Regions from separate parts of the Homo sapiens genome. Here regions 2, 3 and 4 are each linked to region 1. The links are contacts of gene promoters, found by promoter capture Hi-C in blood cells and fetal thymus (Javierre and others, 2016). All regions are on one chromosome and are shown on one strand. Each heading gives the region's core, a stretch centred on a gene start or on the middle of the fragment in contact. The rest is flanking DNA. Distances are from core to core; before and after follow the strand shown.

Region 1 (3,767 bases), core at 814-3,313:
AAAGTTTGCTGATCCCTGTTGAAAGCAATATTTACTATAGTAATCCAGGCAAGAGATGATGGGGACTGAAGACAATGCAGTAGGGATGAAGAAGCATTTGAAAAATGTAAGCAGAACAGATCAGCAGTGTGACCGACTGGATATAAGAGTAGGTAAGAGAGAAGTAGCTAAGACTGCTCCTAGGTTTCTAGCTCTACGGTCTGCTGAGATGGTGGAGCTAGGATGTGGTGCTGAAAATGATCCCAACTCATGTCCATGTATTAACTTCTGGAAGGGATGAATGTTACCTTACATGGCAAAAGTGACTTTTCAGATGTGATTAAATTAAAGATCTTGGGATGGGGTGATTATCCTGGATTATCTGTGTAGGCCCTAAACGCAATCGTAAGCGCCCTTATAACAGAGGAACAGAGATAGACTGACACAGGAGAAGGCAGAGACTGGAGTTATGCAGCCACAGGCCAAGGAATGCCAGCAGCCACCAGAAGCTACAAGAGGCAGGAAACAGATTCTCCCCTAGAACCTCTGGAGGGAGCAAGTCCCTGCTGACACCTTGATTTTGGCCCAGTGAAACTGATTTCAGACGTATGGCCTCCAGAACTGTGACAAGGTAAATCTCTGTTGTTGCTGGGCTTTTTTGTTTGTTTGTTTAAGACAGAGTCTCACTCATGTCACCCAGTCTGGAGTGCAATGGTGCGATCTGGGCTCACTGCAACCTCTGCCTCCCGGGTTCAAGCGATTCTCTTGCCTCAGCCTCCCGAGTAGCTGGGATTACAGGCACCCACCACTAGGCCCAGCTAATTTTTTTGTATTTTTAGTAGAGGCGGGGTTTCACCATGTTGGTCAGGCTGGTCTCGAACTCCTGACCTCAAGATCTCTGTTGTTTTAAGCCGCCAAGTTTGTGGTAATTTGTTACAATGGCAACCTTAGTTACAAGAATGTTCCATCTGTTAAATCCCTGATTGTACTGCACTAGAAGGGGGCTGAGAAGCTGAAAGATGTGGGTGAAGACCAACAAACATGGGATTTAGGGAAAGGGAAAAGAGGAATTGACAGACCTGTGGAGTCTGGAGGTTGGGGGAAGAAGTCAGGAGGTCAAAGTGATCATTACAGGTATACTCATCTGGGAACACCAGCTACAATGTGGGGATGATAGGTGACAGAAACAGACCAGCGGTCCAGCTTTTCTAGGCCAATTCTTGGATGGGGACATGAAGCCTGTGGAGAAAATGAGGTGGCCACAGGAAGGAGCATAGATGATGTTGAGGGATGCAGTCTGGCTTCATGGTTAAAAGCAAAGGCTTTGGGATTAGAAAGACATGGATCTAGCTTCCAATTCCACACCACCTACTAAGCGTGAAAGATTCGGACAAGTTTCATTCCTCTTAGAACCTCAATTATCTCATCTGTTAAATAGGATTATTAATATCCATACCTCAGATCAAGTCAAACAATTACTGTAAGCACATGGTGAGTGCTTAAAAATGTAGGTGTCATTATTACCACTATTGTCATCAGTATTATTAATATGAATATGACTGTAGCTATTACAGCATTAGTCTCCCTACCCTTAGGTACGGCCGCATTTCTATTATTTTTTTAGGAACAGTGTGGCAAGCAGAAGAGTGGCCAGAACGGTGCAGAGGTTTGAGCTGTGGCACCCGGCGTGACCTCTCATTCCCGGCCGGGTCCCGGTGACAGATCCGCCGCCTCCACTCTGCAACTCCTCGCCGCAGTGAGACGCTGCCCCGCTGCTGGCCGGCCCGAGCCCCCTCCCCAGCGCCGGCCTCACCTTTTCATAGTTCTGCATGAGGCGGCTGATACTCTCGCGCTCGACCTGCCATTCGGGTTTCTTCAGTTGCTTCCTCAACTGCTTCTTTTTGTTCTGCCTATGGCTGTGTTTTTTCTTCCAGCGATTGAAGCTCCGCACCGGGTCGGGTCGGGCTCCCGAACCCGGAGAGTTGGCCGTTTTGCCCATTGCGGCGGCGGCGGCGACAGCTCGGATCAACCCCAGACACGAGACACCTAAGGCCAGACTCACGGAACCAGCATGGGACAAACGCACAGAGGCGCATGCGCGAACTCAGAAGCCCGCCCCCGAGCTTTTGAAACCGGGGCACGCGCCAATGACGTCAGGAAAAGGAGGGCTGTGATTGGCGAATTGGCTCCTGCTGGGAGGGGCAGCCTGGGGAAACGGGGGCGCAGCACTCCACGGAAGGGGGCGAGCTGAGCCGAGCCGGGAGCACGCCGGCTCTTTAAAAAAAAACGCATGCGCACTGTTGTTGTTACTATGGTGACGTCATACACTGACCCTTTAAGGGCTATTAACACATTTGCTCCAGGTTCAACTTTGCTAAGCGTTCGTGAGTATGTGTGTAAACACATACAATCTGTGAATGAAAATTGTGACCCTCGTTTTGCACTTTTCGGGCCAACGAGCCAAAAGATTTGCCCAGAAGTAAACAGCTAGTTAGTGACTTCTGATTTCCATCCATGGTGGTTGTACTTCCTCAGGAATAAAAATGAATATTCTATATTCTTCTTATGCCCCTCTGGGTTTTCCTTTTCCTCTGGGCCCCTCAGACTCTAGCTGCAACAGCAAGGAAACTGGAACGGAATCAAATTGAATTTGCCTTAAAATGCTTTTATGGAGACAAAATGATAACTAAACGTAAGGAGGTAGGTAATAGAGGCCGGGCACGGTGGCTCACGCCTGTAATTCCAGCAATTTGGGAGGTCGAGGTGGGTGGATCACCTGAGGTCAGGAGGTCGAGACCAGCCTGGCCAATATGGTGATGCCCTGTCTCTGCTAAAAATACAAAAATTAGCCAGGCGTGGTGGTGCACACCTATAATCCTAGCTACTTGGGAGGCTGAGGCAGGAGAATCGCTTGAACCCCGGGGGCGGAGGTTATAGTGAGCCAAGATCGCCCCACTTCACCACAGCCTGGGTGAAAGAGTGAAACTCCGTCAAAAAAAAAAAAAAAAGGAGGTAATAGAAAAGTTATTGCAAGTTGGACATTTAAGTGAACTGGCTTTCAATGAATTGAATTTTTTGACACATTTACCTACAGCCTCCAGGAAAACACCGGATGTGGGTGGGAGAGCTTAGCTGTAGCAAAGGAGATTGGAAAATTGAGTTCAAAGTTCACAGGCAGAATTTTGGGCTCTCAAATTTCCTTTCCAACCCCACATATCCAGATCACTACTCTCAACTCTATGCCCATCCTCCAAACAAGACATGGCTTATTGGAAGGGAGTGAGGACAGGAGGTGAACAAGAGAATTTCCACACTCAGGAACACTAGATGTGGTAGACAGTAAAGCTCAATAAGGAGTGATTACATGAAAGTGTATATACATCCTCAAAAAATTAAAAATAGAACTCCACGTGAGCCAGCAATTTCACTTCTGGGTATGCATAGCCAAAATAATCGAAAGCAGGGTCTCAGATATTTGCATACCGTGTTCACCACAGCACTATAGCTAAAATGTGGAAGCAACCCAGGTGTCTATCAACTGATGAATGAGTAAACAAAACATAATATGTACCTAAAATGGAATATTATTCAGCCTTCATAAAGAAGGAATTTCTGACACATGCCACAACGTGGATAAACTTTAAGAATATTAAGCTAAGTGAAATAAGCCAGTCACAAAAGGACAAATACTATATATGGTTCTATTTATATGAGAAACTTAGAGTTGTCAAAATAATAGAGAAAGTAGACTTGTGGTTGCCAGGGACTCAGGCAACCAGGGGGTTACT
Region 2 (3,328 bases), core at 733-3,232, 1.1 Mb after region 1:
ACTTAAATAAATACTGTTCTGTTTGCTGTTGGTAATTGCAGTGGATAAAGTGTACCATCATTTTGATCTTGGTCTTTGTTTCTGCACTTTTAATATGTTGGGTGCCTTTCAGCAATCTTGTTTCCGAAAATGAGGATTTGAAGTTTTGTGAACTGATAAAGAGTTATTGGGCAGAATTATTTGTATATAGGAACTTTAAGTTTTGCATGTGACTATTTTAATTTGGTTTCCCATAGTGCAGTGGAAGGAGTTGAGGCCTCAAGCCTTACCACCAGGACTCATGGTAGTAGAAGAAATAATTTCTTCTGAGGAGGAGAAAATGCTTTTGGAAAGTGTTGATTGGACAGAAGATACAGACAATCAAAACTGTAAGTAAAACTTTCAAAATCTGATATTTGAAAGTTTCTGCAAAACTCTTCTTCCTTTCCTCTGTCTTTCATGGTTTATTAATATTTCCTCAAAATTACTGAAACTAGCCCGGATCCAATGTTAGGCAAGTCATACCAACAATTCTTAGGAACATTAATAATAAATAACATTTATATAGCTATCAAATTTTAACTCCAAACTGATTAGTATTATCCAACATTTATATAGCTTTTATAAGCCTTTTCACTTATTTTATTCATTCCTCCCCACCCTAAGGCAAGTTTTCCTTGAGGAATTAGCAGTTCAGTACCACAATATTATAATATAGTGAGAGCTTCCTGGAGATATTTGCAAATTGGAGTTTTTCTGACTCTTTCTAGCTCATTGGCAATGTTGTAAATGGTAGTGTACATGTTAGTTTTCAGATTGATTGGGTAAAACTCTTGAAGAGTTTGTTACAATTTTAGACTTGAAATAACAACAAATATAAGGCAAAATGGTTAATTTTGTTAAAGACCATAATTTACCAATTAACAGAAGTTGCCATTACTAAACTAATCCTTACTCAAAAAGTTGACTGAAATATGCAAAGGAATGTAATTCTTTTCCTTCTTAATTGTTTACTTTGTTCTCTTCACACAGCTCAAAAATCCTTAAAACACAGAAGAGTAAAGCATTTTGGTTATGAGTTCCACTATGAGAACAACAATGTAGATAAAGATAAGCCATTATCTGGGGGTAAGTAATTGCTAATACATAATAAATTCTGGCTCAAAAATATTAATATATTAGTAGAATATGATAGTTGGGGGATTATGTTTCTTTTGTCATTTGTAGATAAACTTTCTGAACAGTTTATTTAAAACACTTTAATTAGATAAATTGTATAGTTTTGTTGTAAAAAAATTTCAAACTGGATAGAGCTGAAGTTCATCATTATTATCCTTATTCCCATGCTGCTTCTCATTTTACTGAATGATCCATAATAGCTTATTCAAATAGTTCTCTATCGATAGACATTTAGGTTGTTTCTGGTTTTTAGCTTTCATAAGTAATGCTGCTGTGAATATCTTTGAACATGCCTCTGTGCCCTGTGCAAGAGTTTCTCAAGGGAGACTACTAAGAAGTAGAATTGTCATGTTGAAGTTTATGTTCACTAAAAAACGTTAATTGATACTGACAAATTGCTTCCTAAAACAGTTGTACCAGCATATTCTCACCAAATGTGTACCTACTTCCCCATTCCCCAACCTGTGGTGTTGTAAAGCTTTTAAATTTATAATTTCTTGATTACTGGTAAGGTTGGTCATTTGTATTTCCTTTCCTGTGAATTCCTTTTTATATTCTTTGCCAGTTTTTTCCCAATGAAGTGTCTAATTGATTAAGAATTTACTGTATATTCTGGCTTTTAATCCATTGATATAATTGGTATAATTCTTTGTTGGAGTTAAATTTATCTATTTTTTTAATGACTTTGGTCTCACTTAAGGCTTTTCTTCCATCATGAAACAACATTTATGACTCCAATAAAAGTAAGTTAGTTCCACTTTGGAAGATGTGTTTTTTTTAAGGGAAATAATTTAAAATAATTAAATTTAAAATAAATGGTATAATTTAAAATAACAAAAAAAGAAAGTGGACAATTTCAATATATAGTATATTTTTATAATTTTATTGCTATTTTATAAAATACCAAAACTGTTGTTAGAATTGTTCTTTTAAACTTTTTATCTGAAAAAAAATCAATGAAATGACTTTAAAAGATTCCTAAATTTTTTTATTTTTTAATTTTGTTTTGCTTGTGGGTTTATTAATGGACCTGACTGCTAAATTAAAAGCTCAGAGATTTATATCACAGTGACTTTTAAAATTGTTGAGTAAAACAAGCAAAGTAAATATTTTAATGTTTTGTCTTTATGATTACTCATTGTAGGTCTTCCTGACATTTGTGAAAGCTTTTTGGAGAAATGGTTGAGGAAAGGTTACATTAAACATAAACCTGATCAAATGACCATAAATCAGTATGAACCTGGGCAAGGTGAGTATTTCTTGTTCAAAAATTTTAGTCACATATTTTGGAACTGAGTAGATGATATAATTCTCTAAGGGCAGATATATTATTATTATTATTATTATTATTTTTTTTTTTTTGAGATGGAGTTTCGCTCTTGTTGCCCATGCTGGAGTGCAACGGCGTGGTCTCGGTTCACTGCAACCTCTGCCTCCTGGGTTCAAGTGATTCTCCTGCCTCAGCTTCCCAAGTAGCTGGGATTACAGGCGCACACCATCATGGCCCAACTAATTTTTGTATTTTTGTAGAGATGGGGTTTCACCATGTTGGCCAGGCTAGTCTCAAACTCCTGACCTCAGGTGATCTGCCCGCCTCAGCCTCCCAAAGTGCTGGGATTACAGGCATGAGCCACCGCGCCCAGCCAAGCAAATACATTATTTTTAAGCTCAAATTAACTGTCAGATTGCCTTGCTTATGTTTGTTACTTGTGTTGACTTCAGTCTTTGCAAATCTACACTTTAATCCCTTGAGGAACTTGCATTTCAAAGTGTAAACACACTGATACAAATCACTGTTTGTGATTTTTTTTGTTTGTTTCCCTTTCAACGTTTCCTTTAGAGAGGGAAGACATTGGTCTGAAAAACATAGGAGACGTGTAATGGAAGAAACCAAATAATTTATAGATAGAAGAAGGCTGATTGGTTGGATGATCTTTCTCTTCTTTCTATTTGATAATATGGGAGACAATTGCAGGATGACATTCTGGTGAAAAATCTTTATGATACTGATTTCTTATACTTGTTAGCAGCATCTTCATCTGACGTTTATAGCAATCAAATGATTTTAAGGGTTTTATTTTTTACTTTTTTTGGCTTAAACAACAGAAATGTATTTTTTCACAGTGTAGAGGCTGGGAAGTTCAAGATCAAGGTGCTGGTTGATTGGGTT
Region 3 (3,498 bases), core at 387-2,886, 1.1 Mb after region 1:
GCACTTTGTGCTTGTAATAAAAGGTAGATGTAAAGAGGTACATGTTTTAACGTATAAAAGTTGGCCCTAGGCCGTGCACGGTGGCTCACACCTGTAATCCCAGCACTTTGGGAGGCCAAAGCGGGAGGATCACTTGAGGCCAGGAGTTCGGGACCAGCCTGGCCAACACGGTGAAACCCCGTCTCTACTAAAAATACAAAAATTAGCCAGGCGTGGTGGCAGGCACCTGTAATCACAACTACTCAGGAGGCCGAGGCAGGAGAATTGCTTGAACCTGGGAAGCTGAGGTTGCAGTGAACCAAGATTGCGCCACTGCACTCCAGCCTGGGTGACAGAGCAAGACTCTTGTCTCAAAAAATAAAATAAAAAATAAAATAAAATAAAAGCTAGCTCTTTTACTCATGCGATAACAGACATGGATGTAAATCACTCTTTAAAATATTTTATATTTAAATCCCAGCACTTTGGGGGGCCAAAGCAGGCGGATCATGAAGTCAGAAGATCAAGACCATCCTGGCCAATATGGTGAAACCCATCTCTACTAAAAATTACAAAAAAATTAGTTGGGCATGGTGGCGCATGCCTGTAGTCCCAGCTACTTGGGAGGCTGAGGCAGGAGAATCACTTGAACCCAGGAGGCAGAGGTTGCAGTGAGCCGAGACTGCATCACTGCACTCCAGCCTGGCAACAAAGCAAGACTCCATCTCAAAAAAATACAAAAATAAAAATAAAAAAATTTATATTTAAACAGCTCATACATTTTGTCTTTAAGTCTCAGTTGTTACATTTGTAAAATGGGATATAAGAGATGCCAAAAAGAGTTGTTTTTATTTTTTATTAAAAATTTTTTAAAAACTTTTGTCAAATTATAAAACATAATCTATTATTCTTTAATAATTTAATAATCTGAAATTTGAATCATCTGCTTCTTGGTCCTTGCACCTTATAAAATTAAAATACTTCCCTTGAAATGAGAATTCCAAATATACTAGAAATCTGGCAGCTTCTCACTCTGGGGATGATTTTTAAAGAGGTCTATGTTGACAAATAACATACAATCTTTTTCCTCAGTGGTTGAACACTTGCAAAAGTAGCAAAATTGCTTGTTAAACATGCAGGTTACTGGGCCCTGGCCCCAGAGATTTTGGAGCACACACTGTAACCAACTGGTGTTCAGAGAATTAAAATTTATATGTGCTTTAAGTTGACTCGTTATGTCTAGTGGGGTTGGAGACCACTTAACCAAGCACTTCAGTGATTCTGATGCAAGTAGTCTAAGAACCAGCCTTTGAGGAACATGCCCTAGTGCAGTGGCCTCTAAAGTGAAGTGTGTATGGCTTGTGGGATTTAGAAGAATATTCTAGAAATTCCATTTATATGTTTATCTAAAACAAATTAATCTCTATTCACATTTAATATCCTGGAAGCTTCATTAGGTGTGAATGTCTGATGTTACATGTCACAGACTTTATGAGAGGTGCTCTAGAAGAGGAGAGGAGTGAGAGCTCACAGGCAGGACAGCTGCCTCTGGCATCCTCCCTCTTTTGATTTAAGCGAGACATTATTTTTTTGTGGTGCCTGATAAATGGATTTTTGGATTATGTAATCCAAAAACTATTTTTTGCAAAATGGACAAGTGGGTTAGAAAACTCTGAATTCCCTACAGTGAAGATGAATATAGACAATAATTCAAGCACAAATAACCAACAGAAAATAGCAAAATTAATGCTCCTAGTATGAGCTCTCAGTCCCAACCTAACAGCTGAGACTATCTAATCAGATCTGACAAGAAGTCTACTCCCCAAACTAGAAGCGATCACAAATATAGTTAATAATGAAGCTTGCCCTCTCTGGGCAAATATCTTTGTGTCTTTGAGAAATTAATGATAGAATGAAGCCATCAATGTGGCAAGACATTTTTAAATGAAATGTTTATACATTTTTAAAATATACTTTTTTCTTCTACATTTAAGGGAAACATTTTTAAAAGATTTTGTTTTATTTTATCATAACCTTTTAAAATCCACAAATCCCACACCTCTAGCCACCCCAAAGATTTTCCTGCACCCTGAGTTGCCTGCTAGTTCTTTATTCTCATCTATTTAAAAAATCTGTGTAGAAAAGAAAATTATTCTGCAAAGTAAGCAGGCCTTTAGCCTCAAGAATAAATAGACCATTTGGGGGAGGTTAATGCTTCGTAGCTAAAATTGTATGCTTTGCAAATGACCAAAAAAAAAAAATAATAATAATAAATGAATTCTCCAAGCTGAGTTTTATGTTTTGTATTATAAATTAAAGGCTGACCCTTTTCCTTCTCCTCTGTTTTTTTTCTTGGTTACCTTTTGCCTCTAATTACTGTACAGGGAATACTTTCACCATATGACTTATAAAACTGCAAACTTTTCATTGAATTTTTATCACCATAGCGTGAATAATGTATTCAGTCCTGAAATGTCACAGTGAACATCAAATGGTTTTACATAATGCATTCTTGCTGAAGTTTCAAGAAGCCAGCAACCAGGGAAGCAGCAGAGAAGACACAACTTTGGAAAGAAAACTTGATACAAATTTGTCATTTTTCCAGGAGGAATAAAATAAGTAGCAGAAGAGTAAATGAGAGGAAAGACTGAGAAATAAAACTTTTTTTTTTTAAACCATAAATAGAAAAACAAGCAAAACTAGTACAGTTGCCACAGGGGACAACTGGAAGAAAAACTAGAAAGTAGCCAGAAACAGATGGTGGGGAAAGGGGCTGTAGGGAGAAGGGCGAGGTTAGAAACCTCATAACCATAGGAATTGAGTTTGAAACTGCAGTCAAACAGTTTCATAGTTTGGAACTACAGTAAAAATGTAACAATTTTCAAGGACTATTGGGGCCATTTTCAATTTTTTTCTGATTGAAGACTCTTGAACTAGAATACAATAGCTGTAAGAATTCTAGTTTTGGATGCTTTATTAGCTGATGAGAGTGCTCATTACTCTGTCGTCCAGGCTGGAGTTCAGTGGTGCAATCATAGCTCACTGTCACCTTGAATTCTTGGGCTCAAGTGATCCTCCCATGTTAGCCTCTTGAGTAGCTAGGACTATAGGTGCATGCCACCATGTCTGGCTAATTGAAGAGTGGCCATTCTTTTAGCATCCTTTTCTCATAGGTTTGGGGAGAGCTCGTAATGTGACAATCTGGCCAAAAATAAGTGCTCCATCCCTTATGGGACACACTGTTAGTGGTCTACCCAATGATTGTCTCCCCTTTTTCTTGCTAATAGAAACCTATTCCCCTCATTCCCTGCCCATAGTCTGTCAAGGTCTCTTGATCTCAGGGAGGACACACTTCATCCAAGCCCCACAGAGTGAATCATGATTGGCCTTATAGCAGTCATGGTAATTCTACTTCCCTTAGCTACTGTTTGATATGGGGGTGAGAGTGTGTAATAGTTTTCTATTGCTGCTGTAACAAATTACCACAAGTTTAGCAGTTCACAGCAACGCAAATTTATT
Region 4 (3,444 bases), core at 321-2,820, 1.3 Mb before region 1:
CTGACTCCCTGAATCCCAATTGCTACATTATAAATATACAAAAATGCAACTGGAAGGTCTTTGAACAAAATATTATTGGGCTTCTTATTTTAAATATTCTCCTTATGTGTGTCATTTAAAAAATTCATATAGTTTGGGGAAATAACCTTATTTTAAAAATATACCTTTCTTCAAAAAAAACAAAAACAGACAAAATAAATAAAATATACCTTTTTGAGATATTATCTTACCTTGCTGCTGCTATTTCTCTCTCTCTTCCTCTCAGTCTCTTCCTCTCTTCCTCTCTCTCTCTCTCTCTCTCACACACACACACACACACACACACACACCACAGTCACTTAATCTCATCCTCTTGCTTTGGGGACAAGCTTGGTAGCAAGTTTGGGGACAAACTGAAAAAATGGCCATGTAGCCAAAGAAACCAGATTGCAGCTTTCATCTACCAAGAAACAATCGTATATAGATGAGAAAATATTGAACATTTCTGACAGTAATTTAATGTGATCCATTTAAAAGTCAAATGACAGTTTTAAATATGGAAATTTTAGTTTCTCATCCACATCAACAGATATTAAAATTTCTACAATTCCTTATGGCTATGTCAGTCTTGATGTGCATAATGCCTTTTAAAAATAAGACTCAGCAGAAAAATCTCCATACTAATCTGGAGCTTTGGAAGAAACAAAATTACTTTTTTATGACAACTGAATAGCTTCTTAAATCATTAAAGTGCTCCTTCATTTTAGCCATCAGTTGCAGCTGAAGGCTAGATCCTGAAAACTGAAGTATTTCTAGCCTAAATATTGGAAGAATAGCCTGGTAGTTTGAGGCTGGAAGGACTCTTGGAGCCATCTTCTCCTTCTAGGCCCAGACTCCATTTCTCAAGGGACTTGTCCAAAGCCTTGTAGCCAGTTGAGGCAGGGTTGGGCTGAGAACTCATGCCTGTGATGTTCAATCCAATCCTATCCCATGTGCTAAGCTGTTCTCTCAGTCCTAGAGAACTATAGCCTCCCTCATTGTCTTCTCTGAGATCCATTCAATATTGTAAAAGGTCCATTTCTGTTGAAAGAGAGAGTGTCAATATCAGAGCAGGAATAATGAATCCTACCCCAAAGTTCTTAGGCACAGAAATACAATTCTCACGCATAGACATAAACGCAACGTTAATGTGATAGTTTGTCTTCAGTACAGCATATATAATGCTTTCTCTAATAAATTTCACTAATATTAACTGGATGCGTGGAAGCAAGAACCAAATCATACAAAAGAATGGTGAGTCCTAACTATGAAAACAGTAGAAGTTCTTTACCTAAGATACCCATAATTATGGCTTTCAATTGTTTTCTGTTTACTTAAAATCATTACATAAGCAAAGCATCACACTTTTGCAATTTGCTCTTGATTCTTGCCTACTACTAGGAGCTTAATTTGCTACTTTAGAGAGAGAAACTTTGCATAAACAGGGTCTCTTCCTCCAATTTTTTCCATATAAACAGCAATTATGTGATTTTTTTCTTGTATCTTATTTAGACAATTGAGAATGTATGTATAGTACTAAACATTTCTCTTTTTGAAATATAAATAACTTGACTTCCTTTGTTGACATTTTCAATTCTCCAAAAATTGAGGAAACAATGAGGGATTGGCTTTCTGGAACTTAATTCTAAGCAAAAGAGATTTAGAGTGAGACTAGATTTCTTAAGTGCAATTAATTGGTTAAATCTATATTTATGTTTTGATTTAGGAAATAATAGTTAAGAATAGAGAAATCTGATGCTTATTATTATTGGATAAAAGCATGCCAAAGAGTAGTAAAAGGTGCTGTAAAGACATGACTTGACTTTCAAAGGAGGGTGATTGAAGATTGGCTTAGAGGTGTTAGCAGAGAGCCAAGAGAATGCCACTCTCTCATCCTCTCAGGGCAGAAATACAGGAAGCTAGAGAAAAAAGGAGTGCCAACTTGAAGATATCTCTAGAGAATGGTGTTCACCGGGGAAAAAATTTAGGTTTAATTTTGTGAGTACATGTTTAGCTGGAGCTCACAACCCTTTACAACCCTTTTTCAGAGAGGTTTCAAATGTAAGCTCATTTGATCAAACACACGGGGAGCTCAGGCAATGATGTTTTTATTGGCATTTCCTTAGAGTAGTATCAAGTACAATTGTTTCAATGTTGTTGAATATTAAAGATGGAAGAAAGCTAGTTCTATTTAGTCTCTTATTCTGACTTTGCCAAGATACCATAAATATTGTTACTCCCACATTTCTCACCATTCTCCAAAAGTCAAATCACAAGTGTTGATTAAATGTCTATTTATGCATTTAATTAACTGGGATGGAGGTTCCCGTGGAGAAAAAGACATTTGTCCATCCTTTTCCTACACTATACCATTGTTTATTTCTCATGTCTCTGACTTTACCCCCTTAGCCATCCTTCTTTACCCCCTTAGTCATCCTTCACCGATTTGCTACTTGTGAACTCTTCCTTGTTCGTCAAAACTTCAGCTTAAATTTTACCTTCTTTTCCATGTCTGCCCGGATTCAGCTAAGCTGAATGAACCCTTCCTCCTCCTTGTTTTCAAAGAAACGTGTGCAGATTGCGTGTCATGGCGCTTCTGAATGTTGTATTACAGTTACTTGTTTACATGCTCTATCACCACTACGTTGTCAAGTCATGTCTGAGTCATCTCTGCCACTGTCTCCAACCTTAGGTCTTATTAGAATTTGATGACTGTTTGCCTTGAGGAGCTTACTCTTTAGGCAAGAAGCTTGTTTAAAATAATCGAAAATTATAGGAGGCAATAATGAATTCTTTAACTCATTTAGCAAATTTTTTACTAATTGCCAATCTTGGCCTGAATATAGAAATGAATAAGACAGACTTGTTACCTGACTTCATAGGCTTTAAAATTTGAGCTTAGAGATAGGGTTTTTTTTTTTTTTTGGAGCTGGAGTCTCACTCTGTCTCCCAGGCTGGAGCTCAGTTGTGCGATCTTGGCTCACTGCAACCTTCACCTTCTGGGTTCAAACAATTCTCCTGCCTCAGCCTCCCAAGTAGCAGCTGAGATTACAGGTGTGAGCCACCATGCCTGGCTAATTTTTGTGTTTTTAGTAGAGACAGGGTTTCACCATGTTGACCTGGCTGATTTTGAACTCCTGACCTCAAGCGATCTGCCCACCTCAGCCTCCCAAAGTGCTGGGATTACAGGTGTGAGCCATCCCACCTGGCCTAGAAATAGATATTAAGTAACAAAGTATAAAGATGGCTTGTGATTAGTGAGAAGACAGAATGCAGAATAGACACAGGGCACAGCATGTTCAAAGGCCCCGAGGCTATAAGAAGATTAGTCCTTTGGATAAATAGAGAGGATTGGTGTCAGTGACACAGGGATGGATGGAGAATGGCAGGAGATCATCTGGGCAGAGGTCAGATCACATAAAGATT

What was found. Contacts are between HindIII fragments. The CHiCAGO score rates a contact against its expected background, and 5 or more counts as called.
Region 2: a contact is called between a fragment that was not itself captured here and the fragment with the promoter of DDX10 in region 1, in 1 of 17 cell types (total CD8 T cells). The highest score is 5.3, in total CD8 T cells.
Region 3: a contact is called between a fragment that was not itself captured here and the fragment with the promoter of DDX10 in region 1, in 6 of 17 cell types (total CD8 T cells, total CD4 T cells, naive CD4 T cells and 3 more). The highest score is 7.9, in total CD8 T cells.
Region 4: a contact is called between a fragment that was not itself captured here and the fragment with the promoter of DDX10 in region 1, in 2 of 17 cell types (M2 macrophages and M0 macrophages). The highest score is 6.1, in M2 macrophages.

What each region holds. Positions count from the first base shown.
Region 1 is chr11:108,663,365-108,667,131 of GRCh38, reverse strand. DDX10 (DEAD-box helicase 10) reads right to left here and starts at 2,063. Exons shown (of 18, transcript NM_004398.4): 1 at 1,793-2,063. The coding sequence starts at 1,978. The HindIII fragment of the contact is 12,853 bases long and covers 1-3,767 here.
Region 2 is chr11:107,550,887-107,554,214 of GRCh38, reverse strand. ALKBH8 (alkB homolog 8, tRNA methyltransferase) reads left to right here. Exons shown (of 12, transcript NM_138775.3): 4 at 237-368; 5 at 1,012-1,107; 6 at 2,303-2,407. Among named protein-coding and RNA genes, the nearest start is that of ALKBH8, 13 kb to the left of the region's middle. The HindIII fragment of the contact is 688 bases long and covers 1,639-2,326 here.
Region 3 is chr11:107,571,394-107,574,891 of GRCh38, reverse strand. No RefSeq gene overlaps it. Among named protein-coding and RNA genes, the nearest start is that of ALKBH8, 7.4 kb to the right of the region's middle. The HindIII fragment of the contact is 413 bases long and covers 1,430-1,842 here.
Region 4 is chr11:109,940,158-109,943,601 of GRCh38, reverse strand. No RefSeq gene overlaps it. Among named protein-coding and RNA genes, the nearest start is that of LINC02715, 120 kb to the right of the region's middle. The HindIII fragment of the contact is 2,399 bases long and covers 371-2,769 here.